Linked DNA regions of Homo sapiens: region 1 is linked to region 2. The links are contacts of gene promoters, found by promoter capture Hi-C in blood cells and fetal thymus (Javierre and others, 2016). All regions are on one chromosome and are shown on one strand. Each heading gives the region's core, a stretch centred on a gene start or on the middle of the fragment in contact. The rest is flanking DNA. Distances are from core to core; before and after follow the strand shown.

Region 1 (4,301 bases), core at 1,779-4,278, 53 kb before region 2:
ACTAATATTCTTGGATTCTGTGCTTAGGTTATGACAGTAAAATACACCTTAGAAAATTCACTGTCTAGTTTATGATACAGTATTATCTGGAATTATTACCTAAAAAGAGTTAGGAATATTGCCCATGAAGTGATAATTCAGGCCTGAACTAAGGATAGATAATTTCTGTCATTTGTAGAATCCCCAGCACAAAGTGCAGAACCTGGGACACAGTAGGTGTTTATGTGTCAAACAGACTATTTACACAGTGCAAACCTTTATTTTAATGGAAGGAGAAGGTCAACTCTTGCGCCACTGACAGTGTTTTTAGTTAATTCAGTCCGTTTTTCAGGGATTCTCCCTGCTAATTTTTCTTCTTGTAGATACAAAGGAGTATTTTAATAATAAAAAGAAGCAATTTGAATATTTAACAATAAGAGATTCACTAAGCAAGTCTAGGGATATGCAAATAACTGGAATGTTATACAACAGTTTAATAAAGATTACATAAATGTACATTGGCATAAAAAGATATTTGGGTTATATCGGTAAGTTTAAAAAGTAGTTGACTAAACAGCTCCCAAAGCACAGGAAAAAGTCTGGAATATTACACATCGAAGTGCTTAAAGAAGTTATATATATTCATGGAAGGATTAAAGGTTTTCAAAATGAATTTTTTCTTCTGTTATTTTTAAAATCTTAATTGAGAAATAATTTGCACACCCTACAACACACCATTAAAATGTATAATTTGATGACTTTTAGTATATTTCCAGGGTTGTGCAACCATCATCATAGTCAATTTTAGAACATTTTCATTACTACAAAAAGAAACCTCATACCACTTAGCAATCAACCCCTGTCCCACCTCCCCCTCCAGCATCCCGCTGGCAACCTCCAATCTACTTTTGGTCTCTATAGATTTGCAAACGTTCTCCTAATTTATGTTTTACATTCAAATTTACAGCAATCAAGTTTGGTTTTCAGTAGACTTTGCCAGAGAGCCCATCCAATGATCATGCACCAAAACGACTATCACGTCACTATCTTTTCTGGACCAAAACCAGGGAGCAGAGTCACATCTACAATTAAGGGTGGTTTTCAGACCTGGTAGTAATGCTGCTTAGTGTATGGGTTGAAGTATGGGGATCCCAAGCTTCCTTTCACTTCTGATGGTGCTCTCATCCCTAACTGGAAAGAGAGCTTTGTACCTTCTAGCTCCTTTTATTTCTAATCTGAGATATCTTTTCATCTTTTGAAGAGAGGCAGAGATATAAATGAAACCCTCACCCTTAACCATTGTCATGTTATGATTTTCACAGCCTTGTTTTTCATCAAGAATCACTGATTTGAAGTCAGATGGTTTGTATATGACAGATCTAGTTCCCAAACTCAACCAGGCCAGCTCATAAATATTTACTATTCATGTTTTTAAAGTGATTGTGTCAACTTGCTCTTAGGTATCAGAAATGAAATTTTATGGCCAATGAAAATCAAGTGATTAAAAATAGTTGCCTATTTCCTAAAGTCCAAATATCTCAAACATATGAATTCATTATTCTAATATTCATTTACCATCTTCTATGTAGAGAGCCTCAAGTTTAGTGCTCAATTACACAAAGTATAATCCTGGCTTTCATAAACTTATAATGTGGAGGCTTGGTTCCAGTCTTTGGACACCATGGTTCTTTTCTCATTTACACTATAAAGAAGATTTATGATGACAACCAACATAAACCCATCTAGAAAACAAAGCATATATTAAGTTGATCCATGTGAAGTTATCAATATTCTACCATTTTTGACATCCAAAAGTTTCAGTCCAATAAAAAAACTTGCACTAAATAATGATAGCAATTGCTTACAATTTATCAGCAATTGGACCTAAAATATGTTATAATCACTATTTGATTTGGTCTCACAACAATCCCATGAGGTAGGAAATATTCTGATCTCCATTTTTTGGAAAACAGAGTCTCAGAAAGATTCAGTCATCTGTTTGAGTTGATATTGTCAATAAGTGGTCTTATTGTGTGATACATCAAAAGGTTTGTGTGATGCAAAAATACTGTGCTCTTAAATATTGTATTAAATAAAACATTAAAGGAGTTGGAGAGAAAATAAGGGCTACAAAGAAGTCCTTATTCAAGTTTCTAGCACAGAGTGTATGCTTAATAAGTGTTAGCAGAATACATGAGCAAGAAAGCAGAGAAAGGAATGGTTAATGCTAATAAAAGCCCAAGGAAATCCTTTCCATATCTTTTCTTGTATTCCAAAGGGTACAGAACAATCTTCCTCAAGCAGTAACATCTCCCAGCAGGCCCCATCTCCACCCCTTTTGTCAGTTATCTCTGATTCCTGTCAAGAATCTTCAACCTGTTGGACAAGAATCTCATTTCCACATTAAGCTCCTGTCTTTCCAATGGTGGCCCAAACAAGTCCTAGATTTCCAATCATAAACCAATTAGGAGATAAGATATAAACTCATGAAAATTGAATAGCAATATGAAACATCAGGAGAAGACATGTATATGAAATATGAGTGGGTCCTGCCCTAATACACTCCCGTCAGAATGCTATTGTGTCGGTGATTCAGGCTGTCTTTGGGCAGAGGCAATCTGCCTGGTAGGATGCCTCTGAATTTACTAACAATCACCAACTGGGAAAATGCCAACGTGTGAACCACTTGATTCCATCTTGTGATGAATACTCCTCCCCAAAGTTCTGTCATTGTAATCTGCCACCCTGCAAATTTTGCTTGCAAAATGTGTGCTGGCAGCGGCTTCTGCAGCTATTTCAGTATCCTGACATCTGTCGATGCTCTTTGGGCAATGGAATGATACAAGTCGTTCTCATAAGTCATTGGTATCAAAGAGCAATGCTAAGTTTTTACAAAACATTTTGGGAAGAGCATCATGAAGATGCCCATAAATGCTATCGGGCACTGCCTGCAGCATGAGCAGACCATTCGGTGAGAGGCGAGATATAGAGGAGCGTGACAGGGGATGAGCATGTGCAGCATGACTAAAATTAGTTTCCAATCTGAGATCTTCATTTCTGCCATCTCTGGAACAGCCATCATCATCCACATTTTTCCCCATACATGGCCCATTCCAAAATAATCCTCATTCAGAGGTCTAAATGTCAACTGCTCTGAAAAAAGGTTCTGAAATGATGATGATGAATAAATGTGTAACATTTCAAGCAGATACTCTGTGGAATCTTATCACCACTGCCAGAAAGCAGCTAGCAAGGGAACCATGGCCATATACTGAAGCAAGGCCTGGTTTCTGGCCTTGTAAAGCGATGTCTCGAATATGTATCTGCAGGTTGATACCTCATCTCATTGACAGCTTTCCATCCTGACCTGAAGTTCTCCAGCTTTCCCAGTGTTGCATGTAGGCAGCCCCATTCCCTGGGACGGTCAGAGACTGGACTGTTTAACCCAAGGGGAAATACTCTGTCCTGGAGTCACAGAGCACAAAGCTCTTCATCTGTTATACAGACCCAAGGATTTCCCCCAAAGTTCTACCACAGAAAGGCAAGGATTTCCCCCAAAATTCTACTGCAGACAAGAGAAGTCATTTTATATTTAAGGTCTTACAAAGTCTTATGTTACAATTACAAGAGGATAAAGTCTAGAAGCTAAACTAAATGACTGAAAAAATGGCTCAAATGATGACACTCTTGAGATTCACTTGGAGAGTTTAAAGGCAATTTTAAAAGAAAATGTGAAAGTGGAAAAATTCTAGTTTTTTATTTTATTTTATATAACATTAAAAATATATATGTAGTAAAATTATTAAATAAAATAGGTAAACGTTTGACTCTTCCATCTACATCCTTAAAAGGCATATATACAAAATTCCCCCAAAATCTATCTCTTTTTGAATTTTTTATTTGGGAAATGAGGGAATCATCTTATTTGGCGGTATATATGGAACTTAAGAAATATTTGTGGAGTAGTATAGGGAAGAGTCAGGTGTCATTAATATGAGAGAGATTGGGTGTTTGGGTGTCTCATTTTGCCTATTGATTTTAATTTTAAAAATACTGTCAGCAAAAATTCTATAGAATATTAAAATCTGCATTGTCTCTGAAATTACTAAAACCATTAACAAACCTACTAAGTTTAATGTACTGATGCTACCCAGCATGTTTTCCACTTGAAAATAATCCCTTGCCTATTTCCTCATTCGCTTTACCTTAGACCTAGTTTAATTGTGAGACCTCAGCCCCAATTCTCATGACAACTGGAAGGGGTATTTGACAAGGTTGTTATCTGGGAAGAATCATTTCACCATTTGGGGTTTTGGTTTCCC
Region 2 (3,845 bases), core at 643-3,142:
ATGAGCCATATCTTATGGCTTATACTGGGTGGGGTGGCCCAGAGGTTAGGAGGTTTAACTGATGATACTCTACAAAAAATAAATAGATAAATCTAATTGAACGGACCAAACCAGACAATTTTTCTAATAGAGTAAATAGTATCAAATAGGAAGAATATGAACCATTATCTTCAATGTGAATGTGGACTAGTTATTACTTTTATGGTCATTACTTAGACACAGGTTGTTTCCTTTGACACTCAAGCCACTGTGGTTGGATGATCCAATACTAGAATCAGGTAGACGTGGTTTTGATGCTTGCTTCTGTCAGTTATATTTTCTCAGTTCTAAGTAGCCATCAATTTGTAAGATGTTCCATTTTAAATGCACCAATCAACTATAAAATACATACTGAATTTCAAAAGTATTAGAATGAAAAAAAAATGTCTCTTAGAAATGGGATATGAACTGTGAGCCTGAGCAGATTACTTAACCTTTCTAAGTCTCGGTTTTCTCATCTGTAAAATGGGGATGATAGTAGCCGCTGCCTCATAGTTTTCTGTGAAAATTAATTAATACATTGCAGGTAAAGCAGAAAACACCATGCTTAGGGAATTGAAAGCACTCAATATTTGCATTTTTAAAAACTATGTCTTTAGTCAAGCATAACTCTTTTAAAATGCCATTAACTATAGGAGGAAGAATCAGTGTTGTAACATTTTGCTATTCCTTGAGTACAATCTATGTGTACTAAGAAAAGACATCATTGGTAACACAACTACCAAGCTTATCTAGGGATCAGCTATCTCAAGATAGGCATAGCAATTGCTGGATGCCATATGATTTCCATGTATTTTATTTCTCCAATAGCACTCACATTCTTTGGGAGCTGTATTCTAATACTTTCAGAAAAGCCATGGGAACACACCAGAGTGACTGCTCGAGTAAATAAGTAGCATAAACAGCAAGCCAAACCATTGATGTACACATCACTGGGCCCAATACTATGAAATCCCACATAAGAAACTTGAAAGTGAAAGCTGGAATTCTGAGGATACTGGTTTTGCTTAATAAACAGCATTTCAACAGGTGAGTCAACTTAGTATTGCAGAGCGTGGTGTTGGCTTTTTTCTGATTGGGGCTAGTTTTTCATTAAAGGCAATATCTAGCACTGAAATAGACAACAGTACCTAGTCCCAACCACCTGCTTCCTGGTGAGTCAGTTCAAGTTCTCACAATTGTGTCTGTGTCCAGCCCCAGACCAGCTGAGCTGGGTCATGTGCTCACCCAGATCTTTCCCTAAAAGAGGACTGACAGGGAAACCACTGCCCTCTTTCACATCCAGGGAAGGAGTGACTTCTAAGAGAAATAGGGTTTTGTTTCCTCGCCAAAGTGTCAGGAATGATCAAATGTGAAAAACAGAGGGCAAATCCGTGTTAGTGCGTCATTAGGTGGGTGTTTCTAAAGTGATCACATGGTAACACTTCCTCTGCTCGCTGACCCACCAGGAGTGTTTTGGAAACAGTCAGCCCACGTGAAATGGGCTGAAGACATCCCAGTGTCCTCCTCTCAGAAGCTGTGAGCCCCAGTCAGGGCGGGCTGTCTTAGCCTGTAAACGTCCACAGGGCCAGAGCCTATATTTAACTGATGACACATCTTACAAGGGGGAAGGGAAGGGGAATCTGTGACCCTGTTTCCTCCCACCAACACCAGCCCATTCACACAGAGTCTTTTGAAGGTCTCACTGGCAGTACTCCTTCAAACTTACCCAATATGCCCCACTCAAAGGCCCTCCCAGGCTTGTGGGAACAGAAAGATTTCTTGAAATGGAAAGGAGGGTTGTGAATGAGTGAGGAAATTCAGCATGGAGATATGAGAGGCTCACTCTTTAGCCACACGGAACCGGGGACTCCAAGGCAACCCCATTCCCAGAGTTCTTTCGAGGGTGGGGCTAATGACATGGGACCAAGAATTGACTCCAGGAAAGGGCATGGTGATGTGTGGCCTCCCAGACAGCCTCAGAGCAAGCAGGTGGATTTGACTTAGGCTGTGGGGAAGGCAACAGCCTCTGTATATTTTTCCATCTTGATGCTGAGTCAGACAAGGCAGTTAGTGGTTCTTTCCAGAATCCCTGCCAGCCTTTTAAAGAAAAAGTCTTTGCAGATTTTGCTTTAGTCCATCTCTGCCAAGGGGTCATTTTCTATGTTGTACTTCCTCCCTATGTGAGGGCAAGGATAATGTAGCCTTGTGTAGACTGTATATACGCTTCAGTTCCTAGCTAAGCCACATTGAGACCTCAGTAAAACAGGTTTGATTGCAATCAGAAAAGAGTTGATTTGAGATTTAAAGGAAATGACATGGATACAGTGCTCACCAGAAAGTATTAAAATGGTATTTGTTGCTTATTATTGGTAGTTATTGTCATGATATTGCTACTGATGCTGAACAAAGACCCAAGAACCAGGGTGATGTTTAGCATGGGCTGGCCTCAGCAGGACTGAAAGGACATCAATAAGGGAGAACAGAGAGAAGGAAGGAGGACAAGTGCCAACTTTGAGCAGGTATCAGGTGTATGTGGGGGCAAACCATTTCTCCGTCCACCCTGATGATGAGTCCCCGTTTCCCTTTTTAAGGCCTGATTTTTGCACCCTCACCCCACCTAAGGCAGCCAGGGGCCCACACTGCAATACTCCTAGGTAACATCCATACTTTTTTTTTTTTTTTGAGATAGAGTCTCCCACTGTCACCCAGGTTGGAGTGCAATGGCGAGATCTCGGCTCACTGCAACCTCCGCCTCTCAGGTTCACGTGATTCTCCTGCCTCAGCCTCCAGAGTAGCTGGGATTACAGGCGCACACCACCATACCCGGCTAATTTTTTGTATTTTTGGTAGAGACAGGGTTTCACTATGTTGGCCAGACTGGCGTCGAACTCCTGACCTCGTGATCTGCCCGCCTCGGCCTCCCAAAGTGCTGGGATTACAGGCGTGAGCCACTGTGCCTGGCCAACATCCATACTCTTGATCTGTTCCTCCACCCACAGCACTGCTTATCTGGCCAGGCTCTCGTTCCTTCATTACACAGCTTTCTGCTGGGAAGCAGATAACTAATATAAAGATGATACTAACGATTAATGGAGGCTTCATGGAGTCTCCCAGAAATATCACGTTTGTGGTTAATATTCCAAAGGCTACTGGTAGGGATTTCTCAATCTAACATGAGTCTGAAAAAGAGATGATTTTCATCAGAGCTATTCTCGGGACTCTTTAAATCAGGCCCTCAAGTGCTTATCTTCTTTGCCTATGTTTAGAGTCAATCCTTAAAGCAAGTAAACAGTGTCCCCATATATTTAGGAATTCTCAAAATCCTTGGATTTGTTCATACTAAGCTACTGTTATACTCATTTTTTAAAAAAATTTTGGGCTCACTTTTCACCATCTGCATAATGGGCATATAACATAAATCCATTCTGTATCACTTAATCATGTCTTATCCTAGATGAATAAACACATGAAAAATCAGCCTGTAAATCAGAGAATGTAGCTGTGTTAACTGGAGATGGGAAAGGGGAGCAGGTAGAATTAATATTACCATTAGTCATGACTAAAGCCAAACTTAGCAGTTTTAAAACTATTTAACCATCCTGATTGTATATTGGAATCAACTGGGAATTTTTCTTTTAACTACCAATTCTTAGGCCCCATCCCGAAAGATTCTGATTCAATTGATATGAAGTAAGATCTGAGCATCAGAATTTTTGTTTACAGTTCCTAAGGTAATTCTCTTGTGCCACCAAGACTGAGAACCAGTGTTTTAAAATAGTATTGGGAATACACAGTAGGTGAAAAACTGGCATCATATTAGGTGG

What was found. The method cuts DNA at HindIII sites, captures the fragments that hold promoters and counts their contacts. A CHiCAGO score of 5 or more calls a contact.
Region 1: a fragment that was not itself captured here is called in contact with the fragment with the promoter of LINC01888 in region 2 in 1 of 17 cell types (naive CD4 T cells); the score reaches 5.4 in naive CD4 T cells.

Annotation. Positions count from the first base shown.
Region 1 is chr2:68,884,196-68,888,496 of GRCh38, reverse strand. No RefSeq gene overlaps it. Among named protein-coding and RNA genes, the nearest start is that of BMP10, 15 kb to the right of the region's middle. The HindIII fragment of the contact is 3,782 bases long and covers 1,138-4,301 here.
Region 2 is chr2:68,830,055-68,833,899 of GRCh38, reverse strand. It overlaps LINC01888 (long intergenic non-protein coding RNA 1888), which reads right to left and starts at 1,892. Exons shown (of 2, transcript NR_183895.1): 1 at 1,748-1,892. It overlaps LINC01890 (long intergenic non-protein coding RNA 1890), which reads left to right. Exons shown (of 4, transcript NR_183884.1): 2 at 850-1,068; 3 at 2,395-2,540. The HindIII fragment of the contact is 9,437 bases long and covers 768-3,845 here.